Regions from separate parts of the Homo sapiens genome. Here regions 2, 3 and 4 are each linked to region 1. Evidence: promoter capture Hi-C in 16 types of primary human blood cells and fetal thymus (Javierre and others, 2016). All regions are on one chromosome and are shown on one strand. Each heading gives the region's core, a stretch centred on a gene start or on the middle of the fragment in contact. The rest is flanking DNA. Distances are from core to core; before and after follow the strand shown. Region 1 holds the start of SLC9A4 (solute carrier family 9 member A4). Region 2 overlaps IL1R2 (interleukin 1 receptor type 2). Region 3 overlaps IL1R2 (interleukin 1 receptor type 2). Region 4 has its middle 42 kb from the start of IL1R1.

The links. The method cuts DNA at HindIII sites, captures the fragments that hold promoters and counts their contacts. A CHiCAGO score of 5 or more calls a contact.
Region 2: a fragment that was not itself captured here is called in contact with the fragment with the promoter of SLC9A4 in region 1 in 7 of 17 cell types (non-activated CD4 T cells, naive CD8 T cells, activated CD4 T cells and 4 more); the score reaches 11.1 in non-activated CD4 T cells.
Region 3: a fragment that was not itself captured here is called in contact with the fragment with the promoter of SLC9A4 in region 1 in 7 of 17 cell types (naive CD4 T cells, non-activated CD4 T cells, naive CD8 T cells and 4 more); the score reaches 9.5 in naive CD4 T cells.
Region 4: a fragment that was not itself captured here is called in contact with the fragment with the promoter of SLC9A4 in region 1 in 1 of 17 cell types (non-activated CD4 T cells); the score reaches 5.6 in non-activated CD4 T cells.

What each region holds. Positions count from the first base shown.
Region 1 is chr2:102,471,617-102,474,706 of GRCh38, reverse strand. It overlaps SLC9A4 (solute carrier family 9 member A4), which reads right to left and starts at 1,481. Exons shown (of 12, transcript NM_001011552.4): 1 at 692-1,481. The coding sequence starts at 947. The HindIII fragment of the contact is 5,984 bases long and covers 1-3,090 here.
Region 2 is chr2:102,009,763-102,012,852 of GRCh38, reverse strand. It overlaps IL1R2 (interleukin 1 receptor type 2), which reads right to left. Exons shown (of 9, transcript NM_004633.4): 3 at 3,027-3,090. Among named protein-coding and RNA genes, the nearest start is that of IL1R2, 19 kb to the right of the region's middle. The HindIII fragment of the contact is 5,709 bases long and covers 1-3,090 here.
Region 3 is chr2:102,028,443-102,031,532 of GRCh38, reverse strand. It overlaps IL1R2 (interleukin 1 receptor type 2), which reads right to left. Exons shown (of 9, transcript NM_004633.4): 9 at 2,989-3,090. Among named protein-coding and RNA genes, the nearest start is that of IL1R2, 38 kb to the right of the region's middle. The HindIII fragment of the contact is 7,742 bases long and covers 1-3,090 here.
Region 4 is chr2:102,099,690-102,102,779 of GRCh38, reverse strand. It overlaps a transcript of IL1R1 not described here. Among named protein-coding and RNA genes, the nearest start is that of IL1R1, 42 kb to the left of the region's middle. The HindIII fragment of the contact is 214 bases long and covers 1,455-1,668 here.

The DNA.
Region 1 (3,090 bases), core at 232-2,731:
GTATAGCCACCTCTTTGGTTTTTGACACAAAGATCCCTTGATTGGAATTTAATCTATTAACTTGGATTCACTTTATTTCACAAAGGAAATTAGAGGTGCCTCACTGGCCCCACTTGGTAGGTATAAACTAATATTTTACTGACAGATATAATCTTATATGCCCCGACATCCCATCACTGAGTAATACAAGTTGCCTATGGTTTTCTTGTTTTTTGCTTTCTGTCAATTTGCAAGAAGCACACGCTACTTTTAAAGAATAAACAATGGGGTGATTGATGAAGCCCACAATTACACAGCCAAGAATATTTTACAGAAGAAACATTATGTGTTTCCTGAAATTTCCACCTTGCATCATGCCCAGGTCTACGTGCTTTATTCTCTATATTTTTAAAGCATAGAATTTGAGAGTTTTGCATGTCAACAATGTCACATGGTTGTCACCCTGAAATGAGAAGAAACCAACACAGCCCAGTACCCAGAAGTATGCTCTCAAATTTCAAAGAGCAATCTCAAAGTATTAAATAGCTTAGTAAAATGCAGTTATGACTTTCCCTTGACTGAAGGGAAGAGAATTTTTAATGTAATAGCAGTAACAGTTAAAATCCTCTTAGCCCGTTATCTATAAGGCATTTTCACATTCACTATCTTATGTAAAAAGATAACTCACCAAACCAGGTGTTTAAGGACTTACCTATTTTTGCAAGGGATGCTAGAAGTATCCAGAGAGTGACCTCATAAGGAATTTGCACATAGTCATAATCCAGTTCAAAAACAGATATCCCTTCCTCTGGCTCTGAGCTGGCAGCAGCAAACCAAGCGTTAGATGCATACTGAGCAGTGGAATTTGCAGATTCATTCAAATCAGAAGATGCTTCAGAACACTCAAGAGCCACTAGCAGTAGCAAACAATTCCAAGGACTGTAAGTCACGAACATCTGCAGAGCCATTCCTGTGGGCTTCTCCTACCTACACCCCTGTGTGGATGTGTGCCACACATCTGAAGTCGGGGAGGCTTCTAGAGAGTGACTGCATCCACCTGGGTCAAAAGTAATATAGGTACAGTCTGTGGGTCCTCCCAAGAAGATTCCGAGTGTGTTATTGAGCTCTGTATGTAGACACTTTCTAATCTGGTTTAAATCGTTTGTGTTCAGGCAACTCAGCTTCCAACTCAAATGCAGTTATTCAATAGACTTGTTAAAGTCCATGGAGCTACCTGGAGGACCTCCATCCAATCATGGCTTGAGCAATTTATGAAAGAAATAAAAATCTCTTCACTTAAAGGCATTTCCTCATTTCACTGCATACTGGCTTTGTCTTGTGGGTGAAAATTTAAAAGGATACTGTAGTGCTCATTCCACAGATCACTGGAGTCCTTCTAATGAGGAAAGGAAACCTTCCCTGTCTATCAGATCCCAAGAAGGAGCTACCTGATCTGCGCTTGTTCCTTCTCTCCTCCCCCTGTCCTCTCATTTGTTTTGAATGACCACGGCTTCAGGTAGCTCTGGAACTACACTTAATTATTTGCTTTGATTTGACTTTTGTAATGAAATCCTTTCTCTGAGGGTTCTCTGGAGGTCACACTGCTGACACCTAGTGGGCACCTGCAATACAACACCCTTGACACTTTCAGTTATGAACGTTAAGGTGACCATGAAATTATCTAAACCAGGACACTTTGGGGAATGAATAATAATGATAATTATGCAAAGCTATAGGCACAAACCAGAATTGTCCAGCAAACTGTCTTATATGGTCTCTATACATGAGGAAGAAGGAGGATAAGAAGGAGGTGGTAACAACAAGGATGGTAGCAAACACTGAAACTTTTGCATGTTACCAGACTCCATGAGCAGTCATTCATAGAAGGAATGAAGTTCCAGATCTCTATGAACTTTACACTATAATTTTTAAAAAACAGGAAGCCAAAGAACAAGTTCCATAAATACACCTAAATACCTGGATTTGTAAAACTCCATGGCACATCCAGATTTTCCATTTAAAAAACATTTGTTGTTGTTAAAAAGAAGCAGCATCATAGAATGTTGATGAAAGAATTTTGAGATAATTTTTATGAGCCTACTTCTCGCTCTTCTACTTGTTGCCAGGTGACCTTGGTGAAGTTAATTACCTTTCAGAAATTCCTTATCTGAAACAGAGAGGAAAATATCTGCCTCATTGAGTAGCTAGGAACATTAAATGAGATAAAGCAAGTAAAGAATTTGGCATGTAGTTGGCACTTAAATGTTAGTTTTTATTTTAAATTACATTTCTTATACTTTTAGGATAAGATACAACACTTTTGCAATGATTACTGATACTCAGTAAAAAATGAGAATAATACATCATCCATATACTACCCCAACATCTCTTTTACATCAAACTGCAAGATGCTTTGTGTTTTGTTTTTTCTTAGTTCATATTAGTGAGTGCAGGGGATTTCCCCCCAGCCAACACACACACACACACACACACACACACACACACACACACACACACACTCAGCTAACATCACTGGGAAATTGAGAAAGGAATGGTTGAGAAGGGCTAACACCTAGATGCAAATTCATAGTGAGGCAATAGAATTAAAAGTTCACATATGAATATTTTTTCTTTTTCCTTCAGTTTGACTCCAGAATAGATTAGATTCAGTCACTGAAATGAGACTATCAGGTGGACTACAAGAAGGGTACACATATTGAGTCGATTATTTTTTCTCAAAGAATATATGAATATCCTTTAATAGAAAGCTGCTTTATAATAGGTGTTTTATTTTTATTTGCATTTTATTGTACTTTTCTTTCTAAAAAGAAATGAGGGAGCAAGTCTCACATAGTGCCTTGTGGAAAGACCAAAATGAAGAATCAAAAGACTTATGTACTCAGACATTAGTTATCTGATTGGCTTTGGAAAATTACCTGTTTGAGCCTTATAGTTTGAGCCTTTATAGTTTTCTCATCTATAAAATAAAGATGCTGTCCATACCTGGTAACCCTTTCCTGCTCTAAAATTCCAAATTTTGTGAGTATATGGCAACCCGTTTAGCCTTATGATCACCTGATGGCTGATAGTCCAGTCCCTCTCAGAGTAAAA
Region 2 (3,090 bases), core at 324-2,823, 460 kb after region 1:
TTTCATGTTTTCTTACTATGCTATGAAGTTTTCCTAGTAGTACTCCTTAGAGAAAATTAGAATTTTTACTGTGGAAAAGAAAGAAGAAATATGCATTTATAGCTATTGTAAAACCAGGCATCCACATTTTCCTAGCATAAGAATAGAAGATGGTTTGCCTGCTTCTTAGGCAAGGTTCATTGACAGGATTAAACCTGTCCCTAAATTGCTTATAGTTGGGGCTAGACATATGGATGGTAGTGTCAAGCTGGGTTTAATTTGAAAAGATTCTTAATTTCACACATGCACGCACATGCACACACACACACACACACAGAGGGCACCCTCTACCTCATATCTCCTCCCACCCCCCACATACCCTGCCACACACACACCCAGCCTAGGACTGGGGATGACGTGGTCTGAAATTTTTCCATTCACCAGTACTTCCACTGTGCTAAGAATCTCACTTCTCCGGTTCTTTTTCTAAATGTACATATTCCTGGGTACAGTCCTTCTTAAGTCAAATGAGTTTATGAAATCTGGAGACTCTGAAGCCAGCTGGTGGAAGGAGCAAGCAGTGCCTTTGGAGGAACAGAAGAAGCAGCTGAAGAGAGAGGCCAAAACACTAGTTCCCAATCAAGCCAAAGGTTGTCTTAGTTCAGAAGAACAAAGCCAAGGAAGTTTTTATTGGAGGAACAGATGAAGCAGCTGAAGAGAGAGGCCAAAACACTAGTTCCCAATCAAGCTGAGGGTTGTCCTAGTTCAGAAGAACGAAGCCAAGAAACTTTTTAAGATCACCAACACTAGGCCTAAAACTTCATCCATCAAGAAGGAGTAGGACATGTCAAGACCATTCAATGGGGAAAGGACAGTCTTTTCAGCAAATAGTACTGGAGAAAATGGATATCCACATGCAAAAGAATGAAGCAGGACCCTTACCTAACACCATATACAAAAATTAACTCAAAATGGATCAAAAAGCAAAAGAGCTAAAACTATAAAATTCTTAGAAGAAAACAAAGGGGAAAACCTTCATGACATTGGATTGGGCAATGATTTCTTAACACTAAAAGCACAGGCAACAAAAGAAAAAAATAGATAAACTGGACTTGATCAAAATTAAAACCTTTTGTGTAACAAATGACACTATGAACAGAATGAATATGCAACTTAGAGAACAGGAGAAAATATTTCTAACTATATATCTGATAAGGCAAGGGGTTAATAACCAGGAAATGTAAAGAACTCCTACAACTCAACAACAACAGCAAAATGCAGTTTTTAAAATGGGCAAAGGACTTAGAGTCCATAAAGGAGATATGTCTGTGTCTCCAGCGAAGATGCACAGATGGTTAATAAGCACACAAAAAGATGCTCAGCATCGCTAATCATTAGGAACGTGGAAATCAAAGCCACAATGAGAGACCCCTTCACACCCATTAGGATGATTATTATCAAAAATAATAGAAAATAACATGTGTTGGTGAGTATGTAGAGAAATTGAGTGTCGGCACTGTTGTTGGGAATGAAAAATGGTACAGCCACTATGGAAAACAGTATGATAGTTCCTCAAAATTAAATATAGAATTAACAGATGATCCAGCAGTTCCTCTTTGGGGTCTATACCCAGAAGAACTGAAAGCAGAGATTTGAACAGATATCTTCACATCCATGTTCATATTGGATTCACAATAGCTGAAAGGAGGAAGCAAGTCAAGTGTCCCTGGATGGATAAATAGATAAACAAAATGTGGTACATACATAAAACGGAATAATAATATTCCACCTCATAAAGGAAGGAAACTCTGACTCATGCTACAACATGAACGAACCTTGAAAACACTATGCTAAGTGAAATAATTCAGTCACAGAAAGACTGATTTCACTTAAACGATTTAAACGAGGTACCTAGAGTCGTCAAAATCATAGAGTCGGAAAGTACAGTGGTGGTTGCCTGAGGCTGGAGGGAAGAAGAGAGGGGAGTTATTGTTTAATGGGTTCAGAGTTTCAGTTTGTGAGGATGAAAAACTCCTAAAGATGGATAATGGTGATGGTGCCACTGATCTGTACACTAAAAACTGTTTAAGATGATAAATTTTTTGTTATGTGTATTTTTTCTACAGTTAAAGGGGAAGAAAGCAACAGGACAAAGAGGGAGGAGGACTGGACCCAGGGTCAGGAGACTCGGGCTCCAGAGTCAGCTCTACCACGCACCACCTGGGGAACTTTCCAAGCCAGCTTGGTTCCCTCATCCTTACAACGAGCAGTTGGACTAATTTTTTTTTTTTTTTTTTTTAGACAGAGTCTCGCTCAGTCGCCCAGCCTGGAGCGCAGTGGCTCGATCTCCGCTCACTGCAAGCTCCATCTCCTGGGTTCACGCCATTCTCCTGCCTCAGCCTCCTGAGTAGCTGGGACTACAGGCGCCCGCCACCATGCCCAGCTAATTTTTTTGTATTTTTTTAGTAGAGACGGGGTTTCACTGTGTTAGCCAGGATGGTCGTGATCTCCTGACCTCGTGATCCACCCTCTTCGGCCGCCCAAAGTGTTGGACTAATTTAATCCTAAGGTCTCACCCAGCTCTAAAATCCTATTCAGAGTAAAATCCTATTCTATGTCTATTTCTTGGTTCCTTACCATGTGGCTTCAACAGTGAACAACATAGACCAAGTCCCTGCCCTTGCAGAGTTTACATTCTAATGGGTAGACAAACATTAAATACAGTAGCGCACACAAATGTGTCAGATGGGAAAATCTTATCGCAAGGAAACTACAGCAGGGTAAGGAGAGAGTGACAGAGGGCGGTGTCAGCTAAAATGGCTAGGGACGTTGTCTCCAAAGAGGTGGCATTTGAGCAAAGACTAAATGGAGACAGAATGAGACTGTAGGGTTGGGGGGGGTGTCAGGAACAGCAAACGGGATGCAATGTGGATTCACTGGATTTGTATTTTGTACACTGGATTCTGAGATCCGGATCATGACTGAAGACCCTCACAAGCCTCCATCCTGCCAGGATCCCCTCCCCAGCCCCGCACAGGGAGACTTACCTAGTAGTGCAGACGTAGGTGCCAGAGTCCTCCTGCAAGGCTGGCAGAAGCCACAGAGCACCGT
Region 3 (3,090 bases), core at 351-2,850, 440 kb after region 1:
CGCATCTTTTCTACCTGTGTGACCCCACACTTCTGAAATAGTGGAGGGGAGGAAATGCGTAACCTGTGAGGTCAAGGCAGAGTCTGAAAGCCGATGGTGGTTCTCCTCCGGCTGCAGTCAGCTCCTTTTCTGGGTCATTGCTGAAACAGCCAGAATCTAAAGCGGGGGACTCCAGAGAGCACTGGAGAAGTTCGAGGAAGGAAGAGAGATGCAAGCGCGTGGCCCCAAGCCTGAAGATAAAGAAAAGGCAGAAGCAGTCAAAGAACCCTGTGCAACGTCCTCACCGAATCCTCCTTCTCAAACCTCACTCTCCTCTCCTTTCCGGTTAAAATCTAATAAGGTGTTCAAAGGCCTCTGCCGGCCCCTCCGTACTTCTCCCTCCCTGAATGCTTAGAAAACAGAAGAAGGAAAGAGGAGATGATAACAGGAAAATAGAAAAGCGAGGGTCAAAAGTTAACTGCTCAAAACCGCCTTCACCTAAACCAGGCATTGGCAAACTTTTCCTGTAAACGACCAAATAGTAAATATTCTAGGTTTTGCCATCTCAACTACTCAACTCTATCTTCAAAGAGCAAAAGTGGCCAAAGACAGTCTGCAAACAAACAGGCAAGGCTGTTTCCTAATACTCTTAATCCACAGAAACAGAGGGCAGGCTGCATTTGGCCCACAGGCTGTGGTTTGTCAACACGTAGTCCAAGTACAACAATTTTTATTTCTGTCTATTCCTCCTATGTTTTTGATTATTAAACAGTTACTATAGTTGAAATAGAAAAATAGGAAAAATGGAAATATAAAATATAGCTAAATAGCTAAGTTAATTTGGACTAAGTGATTATCCCCATTTTTCAGATGAGAAAATTGATGTACTTTGAGATTAAAGGATTTGCCCAAGATCACAGAGGCACCATGTGGCAGTGCTTGAACTTGAACTCACAAAGTCTGCCTTCAAAGTCCAAGTTTTTAAGTTTTCTCCTTGTCTAGATGCAAACAAATGTCAATATTGTAACCATAAAAATTGTACAAAACAATGTATAATATTTCCTTAACACTGTAAACATTTAAGTCTTACAATTTTGATAATTTGGTCATTATAGTATTGATCATTATAATTGATAATTGCTGCATAATTTTTCATCATTGGGGTAATAAGTTTTATTAAATTATTTTATATCTCTAATGATTTTATTTTATTAAATTATTTCCTAAGCTAAATTCCCAGGAGTAGTATCACTGGGCATCTCTCAAACCTTGTTGTTATGTACTGGGGAAGAGAGTGCTGATTTGTGGCAACTGCCAATTTCTGTGGTGTAAAGACTCCACAATGGCCACAGATTTTAAGCTACCAACATGACATCACTGAACAGAGCCAAGAAGAGAGGCACATCCTGGGCTCTTGCAAGAAGATGCAAGCTGGTCCAGCACCCAACTGACTTGGCTCATGTTGCCTTTCTTCTTCCCAGCACCAAATTATAAATTGAATTAAAGTGTGAGAGTGTTTCATAAAAACTTTTAAACACTTGATAGTGTGTGAGTGCACTGGTATCTCAAATTTGCTCTAATTTACATCCCCTGGTTCTTACTGAAAGTGTCATTTTTCCATGAGTTCCTTTATGTGTGTCTCTTCTGCAATCCCCTACTCACATTTTTTCATCTGTAGGGTGATGATGCTACTATAAACTGAATGTTTGTGTCCTCCCAAAATTCATATGTTGAAACCCTAACCTCCAATACAATGGTATTAGGAGTTGTGGCCCTTGGGAGGTGATTAAGTCAGGAGGGCTGCCGTCTATTAGCCAGGAAGTGGGCCCTCACCAGACACCAAATCTGCTCGCACCTTGATCTTGGACTTCTCAACCTCCAAAACTGTGAGAAATAAATTTCTGTTGTTTACAAGCCACCCTAGTTATGGTATTTTGTTGTAGCAGCCCAAAAAGACTAAGACACATGCCTTTTCTATGACTTTGAATAACTCTACACATGATAGTTACTCATTCCTTGAACTTGTCTGACACAATTTTGTCTAAACCTTGCTTTTGTTATTTTGTTGTGCAGAAATTATAATGTAATTAAGCCTACTCACCTTTACTCTTGCAAGTCTTTTGGTAATGAACAAGAGAGAGTTCATCCCATCTTCATTTATTCTGCAAATATTCATTAAATGCCTGCTTTGAGGTACTGGAAATACAGCTGGGACCAAAATAATCTCTCTGACCTCATGGGTCTTCCATTTGGGTGGGAAACATAAATTGAAAATCAACAAGCAAATCTATACTGGAAGGTCTGGTGGTGATAAAAGCTACAATGGTACAAAGCAGGGTGAGGGGACAGAGAGGAAGGAAGGTCCTCTCTGGGGACCTTCCCTCTGGGAAGGTCACATTTGAACAGAGACCTGAAAGGTGGAGTCACCAGCCGTGCTGATTTTCCTGCCATTGGAGTTTTTTTTTTTTTAATTGAACTCATTTATCTATCTGGATTTTATTTTTGGTATATGATATGAAAGAGGCTCTGGGTACATTTTATTCAGTTTGTCTACAATTCTTTTAATGCCCTTCCTTCTATTTTCAGACATGTTGTTATGAAGTTGGGTCTAATTCTCAGTTCACTAATACATTCCAATGTGTGTATTTTTAATTGCTATTTTTTGGATAGCCCTTTCCAAAAAAGTTCACCAATTCTTGCTGATTCTTCTGCTTTAGCACTAAATTATTCTTTTCAGTCTCAAAATGAACAACCAGCTTCCTGAAAGGCAAACTATGTCTTAACCATCACTGTATGTACAACATCTCCCATAGAGTCTAGTCAAAATAGACTCATAATATGTTTTTGTTGAATGAATGTCAAAACTCATGTAGATGTTTTCCACTCTCATGCAGGCCTAAGAGCACCTCATTCTGTTAAATAGGTCACAAGTAGCAGACAGCTACTCACACCCACTCACAGGCACATCTACTGTTGTCACTGATTTTTAGGGAAAAAAAAAACAGAATGTAAGACTTTAGTCCTTTACTACAAAGCCACTATAAATGTGGCACCTTTGGTAGACAACTGAGGCAAAGAACAGAGTCCCTCAAAAAGACACAGCCACTTCCA
Region 4 (3,090 bases), core at 312-2,811, 370 kb after region 1:
TCTTTATCCAGTCTACCACTGATGAACATTTAGGTTGATTCCATGTCTTTGCTATTGAGAATAGCGATGTAATGAACATCATGTCTTATGGTAGAATGATTAATATTCCTGTGGGAATATACCCAACAATGGGATGGCTGAGTCAAATGGTAGTTGTGTTTTAAGTTCTTTGAGCAATCACCAAACTGCTTTTCATAGTGGCTGAACTAATTTACATTCCCACAAGCAGAATATAAGCATTCCCTTTTCACTGCAACCTTGTTGGCATCTCTTATTTTTTGACTTTTTAGTAATAGCCATTTTGACTGGTGTGAGATGATATCTCATTATGGTTTTGACTTGCATGGAAATTTAAATTCTTTAGGCCCATTTTACAGGTGAGAAAACTGATTGAGATTATGTAAATACTTTCCCCAAGCTCCCTTAGTCAGGCAGGGGTAGAGCCCAGGTGGAGCCCAGGCTTGCATTGCTCTTCAAGTGTTACCAGGGATCCACCGCAATTTACTTGACAACAGGTCTTATCTACTCAGGAACAGTGCAAGTTCCTAGCAGCCATTGTCTCATACTTCCTGGTACCCTTTCCAGAGAGCACCCAAAAGACCTTCCAATTCCAGGCTATTTCCAAGCAGCTGGATTAATTGGCAGATTATTAGTTCAAGGACTTTTCCAGCCCTCTTTTCCACTCCAGATGATTTCTTCTCTCTTGCTCCTTCCTACTTCTCAAAAAGGAGAAAAATTGGAGGAATCTGCACTGTTTAGTTAACCTGTGTGAACACACACGCCACACACATGCACCCACACGCACCCACACACACGCTTTTGCCTGGGTTTTGTCAGCTGTGTTGTTCCCCTACAGAGTTCAGGGAAAACAAATAGTCATAGTTGGCAACAAAAATTCAATATCAGAAGTTAATGGATAATCTCTCAAACTCTAGGGTCCTTTATGAATGCTAAAGTATAGAATTCCCTGAGCCGAGCCCAGAGCTTTTAACATTTAAACTATCAGAAGACGTCATTCTAACACAATTTTATCAGTAACATGGTCTTTGACAAACTCCAGAATGTCTGTGTTTATACATAAAAGGTCAGAAATAACTCAAGTATTTTCCCAGAATATTCTTATGGAAAAGTTTACACATTCAGAATTGATTTGCATTTATGAATATCTTTAATGTGGCTGTAATCCATGTGTTTCTTATACCTCCCAATTGAAAAAGGAGAATAGGAAGAAGCACGTACAGTATGTGTGTGCATGTGTGTGCATGAGCATGTGTGTATGTGTGTGCATGTTTGTGCAAGTATGTGCAACCCTAGAATCTAACCTTGGCTCCCCCTCAACATGCTATGGGTCATTAAGAGAGGGCAGGAGACTTCTGCTTTCCTAAGTCCAGCAATTCTATAATTAGAGAGACACCAACCTGGACGCCAGCAGACCTGGGTTAAAGAGCTAAGCTTCAACTTCATCTATGTATCTTTGGGAAAATCACTTCATCTCACTGGATCTCAGTTTCTACATCTGAAAAAACAAAACAAAACAGTATAGTCTAAACTCTTGGGACACAAAGTGTGGCCCATAAGCCAAGAGCATCACCAAGGAGCACGATGGAAATGCAGAACATTAGGGCCCACCCCAGAACCACTGAATTCAAATCTATATTTGACTAAGCTTTCTGGGTGACTTGTGTGGACAGTAACACAGGGAGTGCTAATTGACCTGATCTCCAAAATGCTTTCCAGTGTGACACATTCTGTTAGTTTAACCTTTGTCTCTTTACACTAGAGAATTAACCATGCCATCCCCGATGGCCACTGGTAACCTTTGTGGTCAGGCCCTAAGGATCTGACTTGAGTGCCTGGCTGCTTATCATACTCCTATTCCAGGCAATGATACATGAACAATTCGTATCATCCCCATGACTCTTCCAGACCGCACTGTGTCCAGCTTTCTATCAAACCTCCGGGGAGAATGCCATCCCTTAATTCTTCATACCTCCAGACAGACAGCTTCCACACCCATTACTGAGTTTAAGGGATTTTGCAAGCACAGATGAAGGAATGGGAAAGATTCTAGATGAATGATTACAGGGATAGTCTTTCAGCACTTAAGGAAGCCACGATCACCAAGAGAAAGCATGAAATGACTAAAAACAGGCCAGGTCTGGTGAAGCTCATGCAATCTTTTGTTTGATGAGGTTGTTAGATGGTGAGATTACCACAGTTAAATGCTGTGAACTTAGTGAATCAGAATTTCATGTAAGTATCTGCAAACATCTGTCTTGTGAGCAAAACAAAGAATATGGTTAGTAGAGTTGGATACATGTATAAACACCCATACTCAATGGTAAATGAGTCAATTAGAAGAGTATGCTCTACTGGAAAGCCTCAGGCTCAGTTCCAGGTATTTGGTTCCATCCTGGCTCTCAGGTGTGGAGCTGACCTCTCCTCCCAGAAAAGAGGCAGCCAGGCTGGGCATGGACATGGTCATGGCACTCTTCAATTGTGGAGAGTACAGAGCAGAGGAATGCAGGAAAGGAGGGAGGGTAGAAAGAAGGAATACATTTTCCAAAGGAAGCAAATACAAGTTTAGAAAGCAGAACTGGACACTGAAGCCAAAAAAATTTATCAAATTGGCATTGGCCAAAAGAACCCGACGATGTGCAGATGGTGTGTGGTAATATTCCTGGAGGCCTTGAATGCAGGAAAGGAGAATGCCTCGAGGCCAAGCCAGGGGTTGGGGAGGGAGCTGGGAGGTGCAGAACAGGTTTCTACAGCAGAAGGGCAGAGCAGGCAAGCTTACCACATTCTGGGAGTCCTGGAGTTAAAATGAACTGTGAATTCACTGAGAGAGCAAATCAGGGTCCCAAAAGACGCCATTAAGATAGAACCATAGGCCAAATCTAACATAGTGAGACTTAACACAGACAAATCTAAAATCCCATTCTTAGTTCCCTAACCTCATATTGTTAAGTACAGGACAGGGCATATGAAAAAGCAAAGCACTGGTGGAAAACAAAACCAAACAAATGCCAGAGTCTTGACTGACTAAGACGTCCACAGTGAATGATGTGTGGTAGGAGGCTGTAGTTGCCC